Linked DNA regions of Homo sapiens: regions 1, 2, 3, 5 and 6 are each linked to region 4. Evidence: promoter capture Hi-C in 16 types of primary human blood cells and fetal thymus (Javierre and others, 2016). All regions are on one chromosome and are shown on one strand. Each heading gives the region's core, a stretch centred on a gene start or on the middle of the fragment in contact. The rest is flanking DNA. Distances are from core to core; before and after follow the strand shown.

Evidence for each region. Contacts are between HindIII fragments. The CHiCAGO score rates a contact against its expected background, and 5 or more counts as called.
Region 1: a fragment that was not itself captured here is called in contact with the fragment with the promoter of KLF10 in region 4 in 2 of 17 cell types (M0 macrophages and monocytes); the score reaches 5.7 in M0 macrophages.
Region 2: a contact is called between a fragment that was not itself captured here and the fragment with the promoter of KLF10 in region 4, in 1 of 17 cell types (M2 macrophages). The highest score is 6.1, in M2 macrophages.
Region 3: a fragment that was not itself captured here is called in contact with the fragment with the promoter of KLF10 in region 4 in 1 of 17 cell types (M2 macrophages); the score reaches 5.8 in M2 macrophages.
Region 5: a contact is called between a fragment that was not itself captured here and the fragment with the promoter of KLF10 in region 4, in 1 of 17 cell types (neutrophils). The highest score is 6.7, in neutrophils.
Region 6: a fragment that was not itself captured here is called in contact with the fragment with the promoter of KLF10 in region 4 in 1 of 17 cell types (neutrophils); the score reaches 5.4 in neutrophils.

Annotation. Positions count from the first base shown.
Region 1 is chr8:102,360,924-102,363,967 of GRCh38, forward strand. It overlaps UBR5 (ubiquitin protein ligase E3 component n-recognin 5), which reads right to left. Exons shown (of 59, transcript NM_015902.6): 2 at 659-703; 3 at 202-283. Among named protein-coding and RNA genes, the nearest start is that of UBR5, 50 kb to the right of the region's middle. The HindIII fragment of the contact is 1,453 bases long and covers 975-2,427 here.
Region 2 is chr8:102,392,895-102,396,331 of GRCh38, forward strand. All of the region lies in intron 1 of UBR5 (ubiquitin protein ligase E3 component n-recognin 5), which reads right to left. Among named protein-coding and RNA genes, the nearest start is that of UBR5, 18 kb to the right of the region's middle. RefSeq lists a silencer at 1-101 and an enhancer at 2,153-2,232. The HindIII fragment of the contact is 518 bases long and covers 1,770-2,287 here.
Region 3 is chr8:102,330,425-102,333,378 of GRCh38, forward strand. All of the region lies in intron 9 of UBR5 (ubiquitin protein ligase E3 component n-recognin 5), which reads right to left. Among named protein-coding and RNA genes, the nearest start is that of UBR5, 81 kb to the right of the region's middle. The HindIII fragment of the contact is 3,464 bases long and covers 1-2,954 here.
Region 4 is chr8:102,653,899-102,656,988 of GRCh38, forward strand. It overlaps KLF10 (KLF transcription factor 10), which reads right to left and starts at 1,827. Exons shown (of 4, transcript NM_005655.4): 1 at 1,668-1,827. The coding sequence starts at 1,703. It overlaps LOC101927245 (a long non-coding RNA gene), which reads left to right and starts at 2,350. Exons shown (of 5, transcript NR_160672.1): 1 at 2,350-2,888. RefSeq lists silencers at 1-796, 1,697-2,716, enhancers at 1-563, 1,857-2,457, 3,058-3,090 and a promoter at 1,683-2,417. The HindIII fragment of the contact is 6,240 bases long and covers 1-3,090 here.
Region 5 is chr8:102,964,782-102,968,038 of GRCh38, forward strand. The region is part of intron 2 of MAILR (macrophage interferon regulatory lncRNA); the gene reads left to right. Among named protein-coding and RNA genes, the nearest start is that of ATP6V1C1, 55 kb to the right of the region's middle. The HindIII fragment of the contact is 4,294 bases long and covers 1-3,257 here.
Region 6 is chr8:103,007,464-103,010,563 of GRCh38, forward strand. No RefSeq gene overlaps it. Among named protein-coding and RNA genes, the nearest start is that of ATP6V1C1, 12 kb to the right of the region's middle. The HindIII fragment of the contact is 2,336 bases long and covers 160-2,495 here.

The DNA of each region.
Region 1 (3,044 bases), core at 451-2,950, 290 kb before region 4:
TATTCTGTTACTAATTAGTTTCACACTCTGGCAAATCATGTAAGCTTTCTCTGGGCCAGAGGAGGAAAGAGAACTGGGAGCTCTTCAAGATAACTTTCAAGTAACTGCTGTTTTCCTGTTATAATGGAAGAGATACAATGATGCACAATTCTATTTTAACAGTTTATTTTTCATTTCTGTATCTTAGAGTGAATAATTTACCTCAAGAAGAAAGGCAGCATGATTTGGTCCCACCACACACTGTTTAATAGTAGCCTGTTCCAATACATTCAAAGGGGGGTGGCTGAGAGATAAAAAAAGAAAAAGTTAAATTATTTTTTAATGGTAAATACATCATAGGGTTTACTCTTAAATACAATTAGAAAAAAAAAGTTGGCAAAACCTATTTTTTAAACTAATATTTACTTTAAAGCAATAATTGAAAAATAATATCTCCATAATCATTTATATCTCCCTGTATGCCAGATTTAAAAAAAAAAAAGCATGAATGCAATCTATAATTCAAATAAGCCCAACCCATAAAAAGTTGACAGATTAAAAGATTCTTAAAGTCTAATAATCACATTAATCTTAATCATATCAGGCTGCCGCCTAAATGAGTTTTTTCTTAATAAAGAAAAATTGTTGTCAGAAGATTTAAATATTTTAAAACTCTTACCTGTTTAAATTATATTTGTTCAGCTTCTCAGAAACTTCTCGTAACCTTTAAAACAAAACATTAACAAACCACGTGTACAGATCTTTTGTAAACAAATACTTCTGACAGGTACTTGTACCATTATTTTGGTAATTTCCAATAGTAGTACACAAAACAACTGCTATGGTAAGAATGTTTTTCATATTTTCATTTTTGTCCCGAAAAGATCACAAGCAGACTCTGCAATTCCGTTCCCTCACCACCCCATTTGCAACCTCAGTAACAATGATAATCGTATTAATCCCATTTTCCCATTAATCCCAGGTGAGAAAACTGAAGCTTCTAGAGTTTATAGAAAAGGTAGCATAAAGTTGGTAGCTGAACCAATGCCCAACCAAAGGCTCAATTGTTTAAAAAAACAAAACAAAACAAAAAACTGTGTTATCCATGTCAAGAGATTCTTGAGTGCACATGGATATCATGAAATGAAAACAGAAAGCCTAATTGACTTAAGGTATCATCTCAAGTTCTTGAACGGTCTTATAGCACAAAATTGAACAAACCAGATCATCAATGTCCTTATCTATATAAAGTAAGGATAACACCTCCCATTTCTAACAGCATTTAAAACAGTACTGAACAGATTTAGAAAAACCCCAAAGGGCTACATAACAAAGAGATATTAACTTGTATTTTCTGTTATGATTTTGTTGTTTCTCTTAAGAAAACAGTCTTGAATGTAAAACACTATAATAGCTAAATTAAACTAGGTATTTTGTCAACCTAAGAAAGTCATTTTACAATGTAAAGATATAATCAAATGCAGAGATTTTAAGCAATTCTATTAAGTTATCAAAAAAAACACTGCCTGATCTGATCTTTTAAAACCGTTTTCCAGAAATAATTCTTGTAAAAGTAAACTGAGAATTTTAGAAAGCAATGGGAAAAATCAGAACATTAAATCAATAGAAAAGTCCATGAATTCTGCTCTCTAAAGAGTCACAAAAATGAATAAAATCAAATTTCAATCATTTGTACTAACAGACAAAAATGTTATACATACTCCAAAAATAAATGACGTTAAAGCCAGTTTAGGGCTTAAAAACTGCCACAAAGCATATATAATCTAACTTAATTATTTCAGTAAGAGAAAATAACCTAATTATTTCAGTAAGAGATTCAATTAGGAGTCAGCTGTTCTATAACTTTATCCTATAAGTTCTATCATCCTAGTGAACAGCATCTTTCAAAGGCGTACAGTAACTGTCTAATATTGAATTGCATTCAGTAACTGAAATAACTTTTTTTTTTTTTTGAGTCTCGATCTGTTGCCCCAGCTGGAGTGCAATGGTGCGATCTCGGCTCACTACAACCTCCATCTCCTGGGTTCAAGTGATTCTCGTGCCTCAGCCTCCCGAGTAGCTGGAATTACAGGTACCCGCCACCACACCCGGCTAATTTTTGTAATTCAGTATAGATGGGGTTTCGCCATTTGGGCCAGGCTGGTCTCAAACTCCTGACCTCAATAGATCCACTTGCCTTGGCCTCCCAAAGCGCTGGGATTACAGGCGTGAGCCATGACGCCCAGCCTGAAGTAACTTTCAAATGCGGCCATATTTTATTTCTCTCTGAAGAAGTAGATACTTACTGGTGACCTTATTCTCACTCCTAAAGAACAGCATCTGATCATTTGTGATTTGGCCCCCAGAAAAATACATTTTCATTTTTGTAGCCCAGTTTTGCATTTACTTCCATTAACAAAACATGTTTTCATTAGTTCAAGAAAGTTAAGCTTTTTCAAAGAATTCCAGTTTGCCCATTTACAAAGCACACTTCTGTGTTCCAAGATAAAACACCTTAAGGGTAATGTATTGTGGAACCCATGAGCTCTAAGAGAAGGCTGACTAGAAAATAGGGAGAAGATAAACAAGGGTGGGTCTGCTCTGCAGAGTAACAGCAGCCTTTAGAAGACCCCAAGAAGCAGCAGGAGCTCTCACTTCCCCGGGTCCACATTTACTATGAGTAACCACAGTAGTGACACTTTCAGAAGATAACTTGTTCACTGGCATGCAACTAAACTCATTCATTTCCATTCCTTTGTTAGTAGCTCAAAACTTGTCTCCAGAGCTCTCGCAAAATATATAGCATTGGGAGAGAAAAATAATTGTCAAGGCCTTTTTCAAAACCGGACAATGCCTGAGATTAAGAATTAAATGTTGTTTCCACGTCTCCAAATATTCCAGACAATTATTTGTAAAACTAAAGTAAGCTTCGAGGATATGAGAATGCTAAAAAATATTTAAACTCAAGAACTCAACAGCGAATTTCAGGCTATCTGGGGAGATAGCACAAATGGTTACTGCTATCAATTAAATTTTCTAATCTTAAAAGTCCTGGTGAGACCCCT
Region 2 (3,437 bases), core at 779-3,278, 260 kb before region 4:
AAAGATAAGAATGTGTAATAAATCACTTAAAGATACTACAAAGAATAGTAGTTCAATGGGCTTTCCCATCATTTTCAACTGATTACAATTTTTAATAAGACATTTCAAATAGATAAAATGTATGAAGATTAAACGCTACATATTTCAAAAGTGTTTCATGCAACATCTTGTCACTAGAATGTGAACTCCACAGGGGCAGACATTTTTGCCTGTTTTCCTGACTGATGTAGTCCAAGTGTCTGGCCCAAAACAAGCCCTCAGTAAATTATTTGTTGACTAACAATGAATGAATGAAACTTTAAGTCAATTTTTTTTAAATGACTTATGGGAATCTTCATTTATATTTAAGTTATGATGAAAATTCTGGTCAATTTACTAGGGGAAAAAAAGGGCTTAAATTTTACTCCAATTTTTTTACAAGTTGTCTTCTCCCAAAGTTAATTCTGAATGTAAAAACGGAAACAACAGGCGGTGGTTCACACTAGTAATCCCAGCACTTTGGGAGGCCAAGATGGGCGGATCACGAGGTCAAGAGTTCGAGACCAGCGTGGCCAACATGGTGAAACCCCGTCTCTACTAAAAATACAAAAAATTAGCCACGCATGGTAGCACACGCCAGTAGTCCCAGCTACTCAGGAGGCTGAGGCAGGAGAATCGCTTGAACCTGGGAGGTGGAGGTTGCAATGAGCTGAGATCACGCCACTGCACCCCAGTCAGGGGGACAGAGCAAAGTTTCTTTTAAGAAGTTTCTAGAGCCAGGCATGGTGGCTCATGCCTGTAATCCCAGCACTTTGAGAGGCTGAGGAAGGCGGATCACTTGAGGCCAGGAGTTCGAGACCAGCCTGGCCAGCATGGTGAAACTCCATCTCTACTAAAAACACAAAAATTAGCCGAGCATGGTGGCACACGCCTGGAGTCCCAGCTGCTCTGGAGGCTGAGGCACAAGAATTGCTTGAACCAGGGAGACGGTGGTTGCAGTGAGCCAAGATCCTGCCACTGCACTCCAGCCTGGGCAACAGAGCAAGACTCTGTCTTAAAAAATAACAATAAAAAGTTTCTAGAGGAAAAAATATTTTAGGTGAAACTAAATTACTATTCTTTATTCAATGATTTTCACGTTCTTATTTTAGGTGAATAGTTAAATAAGCTAAAACACTTTCCTAGAAATTTATTCTTTTTCTTTTTCTTGAGACGGACTCTCGCCCTCGCCCAGGCTGGAGTGCAGTGGCACAGTCGGCTCACTGCAACCTCTGCCTCCCGGGTTCAAGCCATTCTCCTGCCTCAGCTTCCTGAGTAGCTGGGATTACATTCGCACACCACCACGCCCAGCTAATTTTTGTATTTTTAGTAGAGACAGGGTTTCACCATTTTGGTCAGGCTGGTCTCTTAACTCCTGACCTCATCATCTGTCCGCCTTGGCCTCCCAAAGTGCTGGGGTTACAGGCGCGAGCCACCGCATCCGGCCAGAATTTATTCTTTTTCTATTATTAAAATAATATATACTCATATACAGAAGTATATAAAATACAAAATCATATCAAGAAATATCAAAAGTAATCAACCATAACCCAGAGGCAAGTATACCGTCATTTTGTTTTAGCACTTATGAAACTTTAGTCTTTACCACAGTTAATATCATAGACTTTTTCACCTCTTAGATAGAAAAACACATTGTCTTTTATTCAGCTCCGTGATTCTACTGGTTTCTCCAAAAGATCTGCAGTTTTTTCCCAATAACAGTGAGGCATTTGAACTGAATCATCCATTCAAGCTTGATCATCCTCATTAACAATGGCAAACACCAACAACTTGGCTGGAGAGAGGTGAAGTACATTCTTTGTAGCCACAAAATCAAGCAACTTGCCTACATGGAAAATGGAATTCACACTCCTTAGTGCATTGGTTCCATTACTCTAAGCCTAACCAACTACATTAACCAGTTATGGCCAATTTATGGCCTAGCACATCTTATTTACTTGATCATGATATGACCAAAGTCATTATTGAAGATAATTAACAAGGTATCCTTTTCTACAAGAACATTATTCAACTGATTTGAAACTCTATGTATTCATCAGTCTAAGCATTCTGGGCTTCTTTTAGTTCCTCAAATACACAGCAGTCTCTCACGGTCTCCACATGTGCTGTTCCTTCTGCCTAGGGAGCTCTTCCAGTTCTTAACACCTTGTCCTACGTCCTACATCCTACAGCTCTCCCACCAGCCTCTCTCAGCCTACCTCCTTTTCATTCACAATCCCTATTCTCATTTTCAACACTTCTTCAGGTAAGCTTTTCCCCTGCCCAAGACTGAACTGGTGCTTCTAGTGAAGAATCCTGAACTTTCCCTTTTCACTGTACTTGTCACACTGTCCTGTAACTGTCTCTTTTTCATGAACCAAACACCACCACCAGACACCCAAGACTAGAACTGACAGGCAGCAGACGCCCCCAAATCTTGCTGAATAAACACTCTTTTAATGATTTCACATATATCTATTTATATATATACACACACACACACGTACCTGTTTACATATACACAAACACAGTGTATTCATATTTATAATTACATATATACACAAACATACATACACACAAACAGTGTGTGTTCACATTAATATATAATTACATACACACACACATAGAAAAACAAGTAACTTCCTCTACCCTTTTCAAAGGAAAAGCAATAAGGCTAAGTTAATGTAGGGTGGAGTCTTTGCCACTTAACTAATCTAAGCACTCCGGCCCTCAGTTTCCTCAGCTATAAAATAAAATCCTAAAATCGTCCTTGGTGTAAAGTTTTGATGAAACATCTCAAAACATTCTATTCAGCAGTGTCAAGTCACAAGGTAATATCTATTACAGTCTAATACACAGAACAATGGGTTTCCTGGAAAACAGAAGTTAAAAAGTTTCTCATTGAGCATGTGGCAGTACTAGGACCTAATAAACAGCATTTCCAAAAAACAAGAGCAACACTCTTAATCCATTAGAAATCAAAGGTAAACAAACATTTTCAAACTCAGAAGGTGATATGCCATCATCAATGTGCTTTTGCTTTATCATATACTTGATAAAGCTGCACTCCTGCCTGAGTGACAGAGTGAGACTCCATGTCAAAAATAAAATCAAATAAAGGGGGAAGGGGTGGGGGAGCAATACAGAAGACCTGGGCATGTTTTTTAAGAGCTCCTCTTCAGTTAAACTAACCAGACGGCAAGAGCTTAGAAAGCTCTATTTTCTGCCCACTACTCCTAAATACCTATTAGAGTAAGTACAAAAAAAGCAGAAGAGCAGGTCTGAGGCAGGAAATAAGAATCAAACCTTAAAATGGCAGAACTGGCCAACATATATCAAATGTAACTCATAAAACAGTATCTATAGCTCTACAGTCACACAGATTCAAGGCTGAAATGAACTTTCAGACATTAAATACA
Region 3 (2,954 bases), core at 154-2,653, 320 kb before region 4:
ATAATACTAATTTTAATCGTCTATTTTACCTGTACCAGTCAAACCTATTTTCCTATTTTCAAGTCACTTTTATTGGGGGATGGAAAAGAGACCAAATTTGGAATTCTCCAAGTTAGCAATTCTTCCCTTACCTTTACCATGGATGTCTACAAACCATTACTGACTTTCTCCATAGAAACTGCATCAAATTTTACCTTTCTACTTCATATTCTCTTCTCAATCCTACGGTTAAGAATTAACTATAATGGAATCAGACTAAGTGAGTCCCCAACCTAGATCCAACACTTATTAAGTATGTGACTTCAGGTAAACTATACAATTTCTCTGAAACCATTTCTTCATTTCTAAAATGGGTATTAAGGTAATGCAAATCATGGTAAGGGAGAGGGGAGTGCAGGGTAAAAACCAAACGGAGTAACATATATAGCTGACCCTTGAACAATATGGGTTTGAACTGTTAGGGTCTGCTTATAGTTCTCTTCAGCCTCTGCCATCCTTGAGACAGCAAAAGCAACTCCTCCTCTTCTAATTCTTCCTTCCCCTCCTCAGCCTATTCAACATGAAGATAATGAGAATAAAGACCTTAATGGTAATCCGCTTCCACTTAATGAATACTAAATGTATGTTCTTTTCCTTATGATTTTCTTAATAACATTTTCTCTAATTTACTTTATTGTATAAATACAGTATATACTACATATAACATACAAAATATGTTGTTAATCAACTTTATGTTGTTGCTAAGGCTCCCAGTGAACAGGAGGCTATAATAAGTTTTGGGGGAGTCAAAGTTATGTGGATTTTCAACTGCATGAGGAGTGGGTGCCCCTAACCCCTTCATAGTTCAAGGGTCAGCTGGATAAAGTACACAGCACAGAGCCCAGTGCAAATAAGCACTCAATCAAATTCGACTATGACTAATCTCCTCCCCTGACTTCATCTCTGACTCACCCAGAAAATGATAGCTCTCAGGCAGGGGCTTCCTCAATATTCCTAGCTCTAGATTTGCTTAATGAAAGCACCATTCTCACCTCCTCCCTTCTCCCCATCTCAGAGAAAGAAGTGTTTTCCTCCCCTCCTATTTAAAGATAACCCACAGACACACTGGATGCAACTCCTTCCCATATCCCCCAACAACCATCCAAACAAATCTCTCCTTCAGTCCTAACATGGTAAAGTGAATTACTGCCTGGCATATGTTTCACCTTACCAGTTTTCAGTGATGGACATGACATTTTTTCCAACTGCCAAATCAATGCTCAATGTACGTAATCAGTCCATCTTCTCTTTAAACTCTTCAAATGATTTGCCTCTGTTCATTATCTGTTCTGGAACCCATCCTTCTCTCCCTAATTCATAGGTCACCATTCTCTACTGGTCTTCCACCTACCTTCCATCTCCCTGGCACTACCATGCATGGTCTTCCCTCCATCTCCCTGGTACTACCATGCACTCCCTGCCACTGATTCTGTGTTTCTCCCTGTATTCAAATTGTGCTTCACCTTCAGCCTCAGTGACTTCATCTACCAGAGCATCATGCTTTTAAATGTGTAAATCTCATATCTCCAGACTTACCTACAGCTGTCTTAAAAAGCACAATGACATCCCTAAAATGAATCCGCCATCTCCTGCAAAGCTGTGCCTTCCCTGTAGTTCCTATCTCTATGAATGACATCACCACCCACCTGGTAATGGGAGACACGACAATCGAATTGACTGATGAGAGAAAAGGAAGAGATGAGGCGTGCTCCCAGGTTCCCATGTCTAAACTGATCTCAAATTCCTCTCAGATTCTTCTCTTTCTCTCTCCCCATACCCCTGCTTTGGTTGAGATCCTCACAATTTCCTTGAACAACTGTAGCATTCTCATAACCGACTTTTGATTTTTCCTGTTGCTTTCTCCCATCATGCCAGTAATGTTCACCTCCTTAAAACAAATCAAATACAACAAAGCAAAACCCCACCAATCACATCAAGTCACTTCTCTACGGACTCTGTTGACTTCTTAATTGCTGCAAAACAATATCCTAACTTCTTGCTTGGCAAACTGTCTAGTCATCTCCATCCCATCTCTTCTCCTACTCCCCACCACAAAGCAGCAATTCTGAATTTTTCATGGTTCCTCAAACACATCATGACCTTTTGTGACTCTGGGCCCATGCCCAGATACGTTTGGAATACCTTTGTGCCTTGGTCAATGCCCACCTCACCTTAAAAATGCTGCTTAAATGCTATCTCCTCTGCGATGCCTTTGCCAGATCTCTCAGGTGGTATTGGTCATTTACCACTCAGAACCCCTATAGCACTTTACTCATACTTTCAGCCTAGCACTGATCACATTATGATCACATTACATTCTATGTAAATGTTTGTGTTCCCCACTGAATTCCTTGTAGAAAGGCCAATATCATACTCATGACTATATTACCATATGCCAGCTTGGTATATGGCACAAAGCAGGAACACACTGACCAACTGTTGAATGAACAAATGAATCTTAACTCCAGCTTCTTTGGGTAAATGCCTTACTAGAGCAGTACAATCCTGAACAAACCAGCCCAATAGCAAGAGCATGGTGCATGAGGCCCTCTCAGAACTGACTTGCCTTTATCTTTCAGAGATAGGGCAATGTCCCCCACGGTGATAAGGCCTGGATGAGCCAATTACACCCCTACAGGCCCTGAAAACCCACTATGGACAAATGAAGATGAATAGCACAACTATGAACCCACAGGAAGAGGACAAAAAAATCACCTACTACTTCTTGCCTGCTTCAGATTTATCTGTATTAAAGAAATTTACTGTATGTAAATACAAAACAATCAAATACATACACAAGGACAGTATTTTAGCTCATTCATTTCATAAGTCATAGAAAACAATGTTTTTATTGTTTTTATGAAGTACGAATTGCTGCTTCTTAGCAAGCTGACATCTGCTCAATCCAACTAGAG
Region 4 (3,090 bases), core at 577-3,076:
GGGGGCGGACGGCGGGGGAGATCCTAGCTGGCGGAGACCGACGGATGGGGCCGCCCTAACCTCAATGAGGCTCACGGGTGAGTCACTGGGAACATTCCTCGCCGCTCGCACGTCCCCGCGCCCCTGCCCCCGCCATTGGCCGGCCGGCTCGGCGGCCCGAGCCCGGATTGGCTGTGCGGCCCGGGGCGGGGGCGTGGGCGAGGAGGGGGCGAGGCATGTGAACAAAGCGTGATCAGCGGCTGCTCCGGGAGGCGCAGGAAACGTGAACTGGGAATTGCCGCGCCGTCACCTTTCCCCTACTTCCTGAGCTTGCGGGCCCCCGCCCGCGCCCGACCCGGGGGAGGGGCCGCGGGCGCCGCCGCCAACCGCCCGGCCGTGCGCGCCGGGCCCGCGGGGAGGGGCGGGGCTGCGGGCGCCAGGCTCCGGGAGGCGCCCGCCCCTTCCAGCTCCCCGCGAGCCGCCGTTCCCTTAGGAACCGACAGCGGGGCCGGGCCTCGCTCCCGCCCCTGGCGGAGGCCGGGGCTGGGTCACTCGGGGACGAGAAGCTCCCCGGGCGCACCCGCTCCCGGCCCACCCCCGGCCTCCGCCTCAGATGCGGGAGGAGGAGCCAGGTCCCCGCGGAAACCCGGCCGCCGCCCTCCTCCCGCCGGCAGCCCCCGGGAACCCGGCCGAGCCCTCGGCACTTCCCGCCCACGCGGCCCACGGGACCTCAGACCACCCCGTCTCTCCCTGTAGACGCGGCGCCCCCTCCCCGTGGCTTCCGGCAGCTCCAGGCCCCTCCCGCCGCGCGTCTCCACGGGTTCCCAGACGTGCAGCCCCCACAGGCCCCGGCTCCAGACGCGCGGCCCCCGCGTCTCGCGGCCCAGCTCCCCCCGCCCACCTTCCCGCCCCAGCTGCTGGGTCCCGCTTCCCACCCTCCTGCCCCAGAGGCGGCTCCCCGCCTCTTCCAAGGAGTCGTCAGAAGGCGGCCACCTGCCCCTGGGGTAAGAGTCCCCCTCCAGACGTCTGGGGGAGCAACTCGTCCCCCAGGGCTGTCGGCGGGCCCTCGTGTCATCCCCCCGCTCCGACGACAGGCGCCCCTTCCCCCAGCCCCGAGCTATCTGCTGAGCAGCCCCCGTCTTCCAAGCGTGGGTTCAGACCCCCAGGATGGGTAGCCCACTCGCCTCTCCTGTGGACACCCCGCCTCCCGAGTGCTTGCGAGCAGCCCCTTCCTCCCCTGGCTCGCGTTCCTGAGCCAGACCGGGCATCTCTCCTCGGTACCAGGTGAGGGTAGCCCCCTTGTCCCTCCCGCGACTCTCGTTCCACACTGTACCCCAACCTCGCTGCAGGGCAACGGCCCCCTCCCCACTCCTCCCCCGCTCGTCATCCTCCTCCTCACCAGCCCTCTCGGGTCTCCATGCGGAGTTGTCCCTTCCCCTCAGTACATCTAGAGCAAGACCCCTGTCCCTGTCTGAAGATCCCAGCCCCCTGGTTCGACCCCCTCCCGAACACACACGCCCTCACTAATGCCCATAGTCTGCAGGCAGGAAGCCCTTTCCTTCCCCACGACTCCGCTGCAGCCCCAATTCTCAGGCATGGCTGATGTCCGGGGCTCGGGGTTCGCGCCCCCTTTGGCCCCCCAGACAAGACCAGGCGAGGAAGCACAGGGGCATCCCCAAATGACTTACCGCAGTCTGCTGGAGAGAGGCACCGAAGTTGAGCATGGTTGGCTGCTTGGCCGCCGGCGGCAAGCTGACTGGCTGCTAGGCTGCTGGCTGCTTGGCCACAGACGGGCGCACGGAGACACTCGACGCCGCTCCCGCCGCCGCCGCGCTCAGCGCCGTCTGCCCCCTCCCCATTCAGGTAGCCGCTCAGCCTGCCCCGCGCCGCGGGCGGGGGTGGGGGCGGAGCCTGAGGCCGGCCAATCAACGGCAAAGGTGTGTGAGGCGCCGGCCAATGGGCTCGCGGGGCCACGCGTGATCGGCGACTGCCCGGCAGCGTGAAGCTGGTGTCAGTGGAGCGTGTACACAATCCCCGGCAGCGTGTTCCCTCTGCCCTGCCCCGGGGAACTCCAGAGGCCACCTGATTGAGTGACGCCCCCCGCCCCTCGCCCACCCCTCGCCCACTCCTTGCCCCTCGTCCCCCGCCCCTGCCTAGAGAGGCGGTGCCGCGGCCGGGGAGGCGCGGCGACTGCAGCGCGCCCAGGCACTGCGGAGGGCCAGCCCCACGTGGGGGGTGGGGAGGGATGCCCGCTCCGCCCCGTCCCCTCCGCGCCGGGCCTCGTCTCAGCCCGCCACGGAGTGGGCGGGACGCCAGGCAGGCGGGGGACGCGGCGGCTGCCAGCCAAGGGGCCGGAGCCAAGAGATTTGCATTGGAAGCGCCATCCTCTTGCGCGTCTGATGAGGAAGCAGAACCCGGTGACCGACTGAGCTGCATTTCTGAAGCATTTGCTGGGTTTTGCCTCACTAAGCCTCGGGGAGCACTGGGGCGCGGGATGGGGGACCCTGTCACGGAGCCGACACCTGCTCGCGCGCCTCTCCCCCGCTCACGCCGTGCCGCGGGCTCGCCCTCCCCATCTGCAGCGCCCGCAGCGCCTGCCCGCCCCGCCCATCCTTCCTCCTGGGCAACCCAGAGGATGGCGTGAGGACTCCTGGAAGCCCAGAGGACCGGACCAGGGGCGTGGTGGGGAGCCGTAGACCCGAGTTTTTATCCTTCTCTGGCGCCGACACTCGGCTGCGGAATCGAGTTTGAGCTCGGTGTAGCTGAAGTTTAAATTGTAGCTGTTTCAAAGGTAGACCCCACCTCACCCCCACCCCTGGACCAAGACCTCTGGAAGCGTCCTGCCTGGAAGCCGCTTGTGGGGAGGGCTCTCCTAGGGTCTCCAGGCTCCCGCTGGAGCACGCCTGGAGGTGGGTTTGCCGGCCGTTCCCTGAAACTGGCACCACTACCGCCCCACCCACCCACTCCAGCTGGTGGGAGGCAGGCTGGGTTTCTGAAAGGAAGCCGCCCGTGTGCTGCGCCTGGGGGCTGGGGCTAGGCCTTCTGATCAGGAAAGCCCATGGCCCTGCTTTGGCACGGATTTGCCCCCGTTTGGCCGTTTGTGCGTGATCA
Region 5 (3,257 bases), core at 267-2,766, 310 kb after region 4:
CTTGATCTCCCAGCCTCAAGCGATCCTTCCACATCAGCTACCAAGTAGCTGGAATGACAGGCATGCGCCACGGCATCTAGCTGATTTTTTTTTTACTTTTAGTAGAGATGAGGTCTTGCTATGATGCCCGGACTAGGTGGCCACTCTTTTAAACCTATGAAGTAGGTGAGGTACTTAACATAGTACTGGTCCTGAAATCTGGAATTTACGTATTTATTTATTTATTTATTTTTGAGGCGGAATCTCCCTCTGTCACCCAGGCTGAAGTGCAGTGGCACAATCTTGGCTCACTGCAGCCTCCGCCTCCCGGGTTCAAGTGATTCTCCTGCTTCAGCCTCCTGAGTAGATGGGACTACAGGCATGCACCACCATGCCTGGCTAATTTTTGTATTTTTAGTAGAGACGGGGTTTCACCATGTTGGCCAGGCTTGTCTTGAACTCCTGGCCTCAGGTGATCCACCTGCCTCAGCCTCCCAAAGTGCTGGTATTACAGGTGTGAGCCACTGCGCCTGGCCTGGAATTTATAAAGGTAGTTGCCTCCTCCTTGTTGTTCTTCTCCTTCATCTCCCTCACCCTCCTTGTTGTTCATCATCATCATCATCATTGAATCCTGGTGTAGAGCAGGGCTAGGCAAAGCTAAGAAACCATTCAACTGACTTAAAGCTGTTTTGGGAAGCGTATAATTGTCCTTGTTTCACCTTCTCACTTTTCCTTAAATGTATTAAAGCATCAAAACATTATGAAAAAAGCTGTTTTCTGTTGTTTGGGATGCTTTGTAAATATGACTCTTTCACCCTCACCTCAGACAGTATTAATTTAACCTGATTTGAATAGATGCTGTGAAATGATTGGCTGAAAGGTCCTTCCATGTAATTTATTCAAGTCAACATCACCAAAAGTTAAGGTAGAGATAAAAAACTGTGTCGCCCTCATCCTTAAGAAAGCAATAGCAGATACAGAAGCAACAGTAGAGTATGTCTGCTGTATTCTGAACCTCCTGCTGCACTAATACATTTCTGCAGCAACAGTAAAATACTCTGATCTTACTGCTTATTGGCCAAAGAGTTGCAGCAATAAGATGAGAATAGAGATGATTATGGGCTGCAGAGGGGGTTTCCTGGAAGAGAGGAGACCTGGAGGACAGGTGGAATGGAGTACTGAGGCTGTCTTGAGAGAAGAAAGTAACTGGGGTAAACGGTGAGGGCAGCATTTCCCAATCTGTGTTTTGCAAAACAGCATTTGCCAAAAATAGTTCCAAGGCCAAAGAAGTTTGGGAAATACTGTGTATACCCATCATAAATTAGACTGTTACAGACTCTGAGGAGATCTGAAGTGAAGAAACTTGTTTAACTTTGTTTAACCTAAGTTTCCCTAATGTACAGGATCATGGAATCTGCTTTTTGGTAACACGCGTTAGCATCTTTCAGAATGTTCATGCTCTATGACTGGAACACTGCTGGGAAGCACTAATTTATGATTTTTTTTTTTGAGACAAGGTCTCGCTCTGTCACTCAGGCTGGAGTGTGGTGGTGCCATCACGGCTCACTGAAGCCTTGACTTTGCAGGCTCAGGTGATCCTCCCACCTCAGCCTCCCGAGTAGCTGGGACTAGAGACATGCCACCACGCCTGGCTAATTTTTGTATTTTTTGTAGAGACAATTTTAACCATGTTGTCCAGGCTTATTTGTGCAGTTTTTGAGACTTCAAAAGAGTTAATCATACTACTCAGTTCATGCTACCTTATCATCACATTTTTGGGAAGGTTTCTCTTATTTTATTTTATTTTACCCCTAACCCCTACCCCTGACCATAAGTTACTACTTTCACATTTTCATATATTTTCTTAAATATGCCTTTGTCTTATAAAGTGTATTGTGTTAGTGTATGTGCTATAAATGTTGTTTTTTGCTATTTTTTCTCAGTACTATATTTTAAAGAACTAAAATTATTGCCGTGCATGCATTTCATTTGTTGTTTTTATCACTGCACAAGACTCCATAGTATGCAATCCACCCATTTTATTCATCCTTTCCTCCACTACTGGAAACCGAGGTTGATAGCAAATAGTCACATGTACTAGATAATCATTTGAATATTTTACCTCTAGCCAATAAATAATAAACCTGGCCAATTGTGGCAAGCTGACCTGATCAAGTCCTAGCAGTGATGAAGAGTGAATTTCAGAAGAAGCAGCCTTCGGATAATTTGCTAGAGCAGAAGCTGAAAATCACTTAGCTCAACCCAAATCTGCCTCTGAAACTGTCATCTTTACGCAGTTTTCAAAATTGTGCTCTTGACATTAAAGTATGACTGTTAAAACATTTTCTTTAAAATGCAGAAAGGAATAGAAATGATTTATTATTGACCTATGGCAAGTGGCCTTGAGCTAAGACTCAGGCAGTCTGTCCAGTTGAGCAGGTCAGGGAAGGAGGTGGGATGGAAATAAGGCCAGATGAGTCTCCTGAGAGGCTCCTAAGGAGACAGGTTGACTTTCTCTCAGTTACCCACCCCCAGGACCATATACTTCCTGTTTGTAGGGCTAACCAAAGTATTTAATGCTAGGAATCTCAGACTTCAGGTAGTAACTAGGGAAGAGAATTATGTCAATTTGGGGGAGTCAAGAGGAATGCCAAACTCAGAGGAAACAGCTAATGATGTTGAGCAGGAAGTTTCATAGAGTCCAAGAACTTCTGAGCAAAGAGGAGACTCCTCCAGGTAATGAAAGTACCTGGAACTTGTTCTCAACTTGGAAGTTCTTCACTTCCTTAAGAGTGTGTGATTGTGAAAACCCTCCTAATACTATCCTGCGCTTCAGGTGGACGGTGGTGAGCTGTGTTTCCAGGCAAAGGGGAGGACAGGACGCCTTGTGGCAGCCCAAGCTGTGAAAAATAGGTATTGAAAAAGAAGACATTTTTTACTTTTTCTTTCTTTCTTTTTTTTGAGACAGCATCTTGCTTTGTCGCCCAGGCTAGAATGCAATGGCACGATCATGGCTCACTGCAGCCATAACTTCCTGAGCTCAAGCGATCCTCCCATTTCAGCCTCCTGAGTAGCTTGGACTACAGGCCTGTGCCACCACACCATGCTAATTTTTTCTATTTTTCGTAGAGATGAGGTCTCACTATATTGCCCAGGCTGGTCTTGAACTCCTGGGCTCAAGTGATTCTCCCATCTCAGCTTCCCAAAGTGCTGGGATTACAGGCCTGAGCCACCATGCCCAGCTCTTTTCTTATATTCTAGCATTATATGAATTCCCA
Region 6 (3,100 bases), core at 78-2,577, 350 kb after region 4:
TCTCCAGTGGAAGCCATCCCCAGTGGAAGCTTCATTCTCAGGGAGGTAGCAAGATGGCTGTAGCACTTCCAGATCGCAACAGAAGCATGACTATTTTGAGGAAAAAGAGAGACCACCTCGTCCTGTAGGTCTCTCCTAAGAGCAAGAGAACTTCATGGAAGCTTTCCAGCACATTTCCCCTCATGCCTCATCTGCCAGAATTAGGTCACATGCAAATACCTGAAGCAATCATTTAGAACCATTCCTGACAGTTTCCTCCAACATACTTGGCTAAACAGATGGGTCCCTGAACAAAACTGTGGTTCTGTTAGGAAGCAAAAAGAGGGAATTGGACTCTGGGTGGGACCCTGGGTGGAGGGTACATTGCTTATCAGTTTCTAGGACTACAAAGACATGTTTACTTAGGATCCCTATTTGAAAGAGGCTTTTAATCTAGTTGTGGGTAGACACACCAAAAAATGACAAAAGAATGTTTAGTAAGGTTCTAAACACACAGTAGGCACCTAAAAATATTCACTGAATGAATGAACACATACTAATATTACACCTTGGGTGCTAAGTGAATAACACAGCTATGCCACAGAGGCTCAGAAGAATGACTGCTCAAGAAGTTCTAGTGCAATGATTCATCAAATTTCACGAGGTCTTGTGACAATGCAGATACCCAGGCCACAACCTCCAAAACTTGGATTCAGTGTTTTCATGGACTGCAGATTTAACAAGAATTTCAGTACAACCTCCATTAGTGTTAGGGAAGGTAGCTGCAGCGTGTGGTTAGGGTAAATAGGTATTGTTTCCCCACTCCCAAAATCATTTAATAAATCATCAAATTAAAGACCTACGAGTTTACCTTCTGATATTTGTAAAGTGATTGCTAAGATCCAAAAAATAGTGTTTGGCTGGGTGCGGTGGCTCACGCCTGTAATCCCAGCACTTTGGAAGGCTGAGGCGGGCAGATCACAAGGTCAGGAGCTCGAGACCAGCCTGACCAACATGGTGAAACCCCGTCTCTACTAAAAATATAAAAATTAGCTGGGCGTGGTGGTGCGCACCTGTAATCCCAGCTACTCAGGAGGCTGAAGTAGGAGAATCGCTTGAACCCGGGAGGGGGAGGTTGCAGTGAGCTGAGATCATGCCACTGCACTCCAGCCTGGGTGACACAGAGAGACTCTATCTCAAAAAAAAAAAAAAAAAGTGTTTAATAGTTCTTTTTTTTTTTTCTTTTTTGAGATGGAGTCTCACTCTGTCGCCCAAGCTGGAGTTCAGTGGCTCAATCTCGGCTCACTGCAACCTCCGTCTCCTGGGTTCAAGTGATTCTCCCACCTCAGCCTCTTGAGTAGCTGGGATTACTGGTGCCCGCTACCATGCCCAGCTAATTGTTGTATTTTTAGTAGAGACGAGATTTCACTGTGTTGGCCAGGCTGGTCTTGAACTCCTGACTTCAGGTGATCCACCTGCCTTGGCCTCCCAAAGTGTTGGGATTACATAGGTGAGCCACCACGTCCAGCCTGTATTTAGTAGTTCTTATCAAAGAACCATATGTACAAAGGATTGTACAACTTTTCCCTTCTGGGCCTAAATAGTTATTGACTGATGAAAAGGTGAATTATATCTGAATAATGAAACAATATTTTCAGGTTTGAAGGTATTTGCTTTATTTTAGAATACAATCCCTTAAAATTATCAAGTTGCTCTTTGATAACAAATGGAAAACATTTTCTCATATTTATTGTTCCCTAACACCAATTTATTCCATTGGATTTCTTCATAGTTTATAGTACCCAGCAACCTTATAGCTGTAGAGAGAGACTATTCTTTCCTCCTGGATTGCCAAATTTTTGTTTATTGACAGAAAACTGGCCAGGCACAGTGGCTCACCCTCCTTTTTACACTGTCTTGCTTCTGGTGAAGTTTCCCATAGATATGCCACTGGCATTCTCCAATTAACCCAGCTGACAAAGACTGGGACCAAGTCTGTTTAATTTGTCAAATATGGCCTTATTAAGGTGACTATAAACAAGAATCCACAAAGCAGGAGGAAGCTATTTGTGGCACTGACCTCAAATATGCCTGTCAGAGTCTCAGAATCAACTCCTTGAACAAATTCAAGAAGCCACCAAGGCTTCATTTAAGAAGAGTCAGGGAGTGGGATCTTTCCTTAAGTTTCTGTACTGACCTTTTCCCTCAGTCCAAGACATTAATGTAGGCATGACAGAATGTATTAATAATTGTACAGACCCCTCCGCCTTGACCCACAAGGAAGAAGTTTAAAGCAATTGTATTACGTATAACACACCTGGCTACTCAGTTGAGGCAAATGCGAATACTTCAAGGGCAAAGCTGGTATCACTGATCACTTCAGCTAAAGTCAGGGGCAAATTTTGTTCTGCTTCTTCTAATGGGATGACTTCCACTGCAGCAACAAGTGGCCACTGATAGTGGATAAATAACAAGCCTGTTATCACTTTGGGGAGTTCCTCCAGGTAATCAAAGGAAGCTTCATTTTGGAGAAATCTCCACAATCATCTGAGGGCTATGTGAGCTACTAGTGGTGTACACTTGAAGGTTTTTTATGATGACTTACAAGGTATAAGTCACTATATTTTGGGGAGAGAGTCAAGATAATGCCTGCCTTCCATACTGTCCTGGGATGCACAGGGCAGCTCTGGGAACAAAGTGTTGTTTAAAGGTCCGGGCACGGTGGCTTGTGCCTGTAATTCCAGCATTTTGGGAAGCCAAGGTGGGAGGATTGCTTGAGGTCAGGAGTTTGAGACCAGCCTGGGCAACATAGTGAGACTCCATCTCTACCAAAAAAATAAAAATAAAAATCAGCCGGGTGTGGTGGTGCATGTTATAGCTCCTCAGGTGGCTCAGGGGAGAGGACCCCATGAGCACAGGAGTTTGAGGCTACAGTGAGCTATGATGGCACCAGTGCACTCCAGCCTGGCTGACAGAGTGAGACCCCATCTCTAAAACAATTTAAAATTAAAATTAAAAAAAAGAAAATGTTGTTTACAATTCTTAGCATCCCCCAAATGAGACTTATACCATTCGGTGGGCACAGATCGACAGTAACACCAACATGACCTCTGGGTCAGCT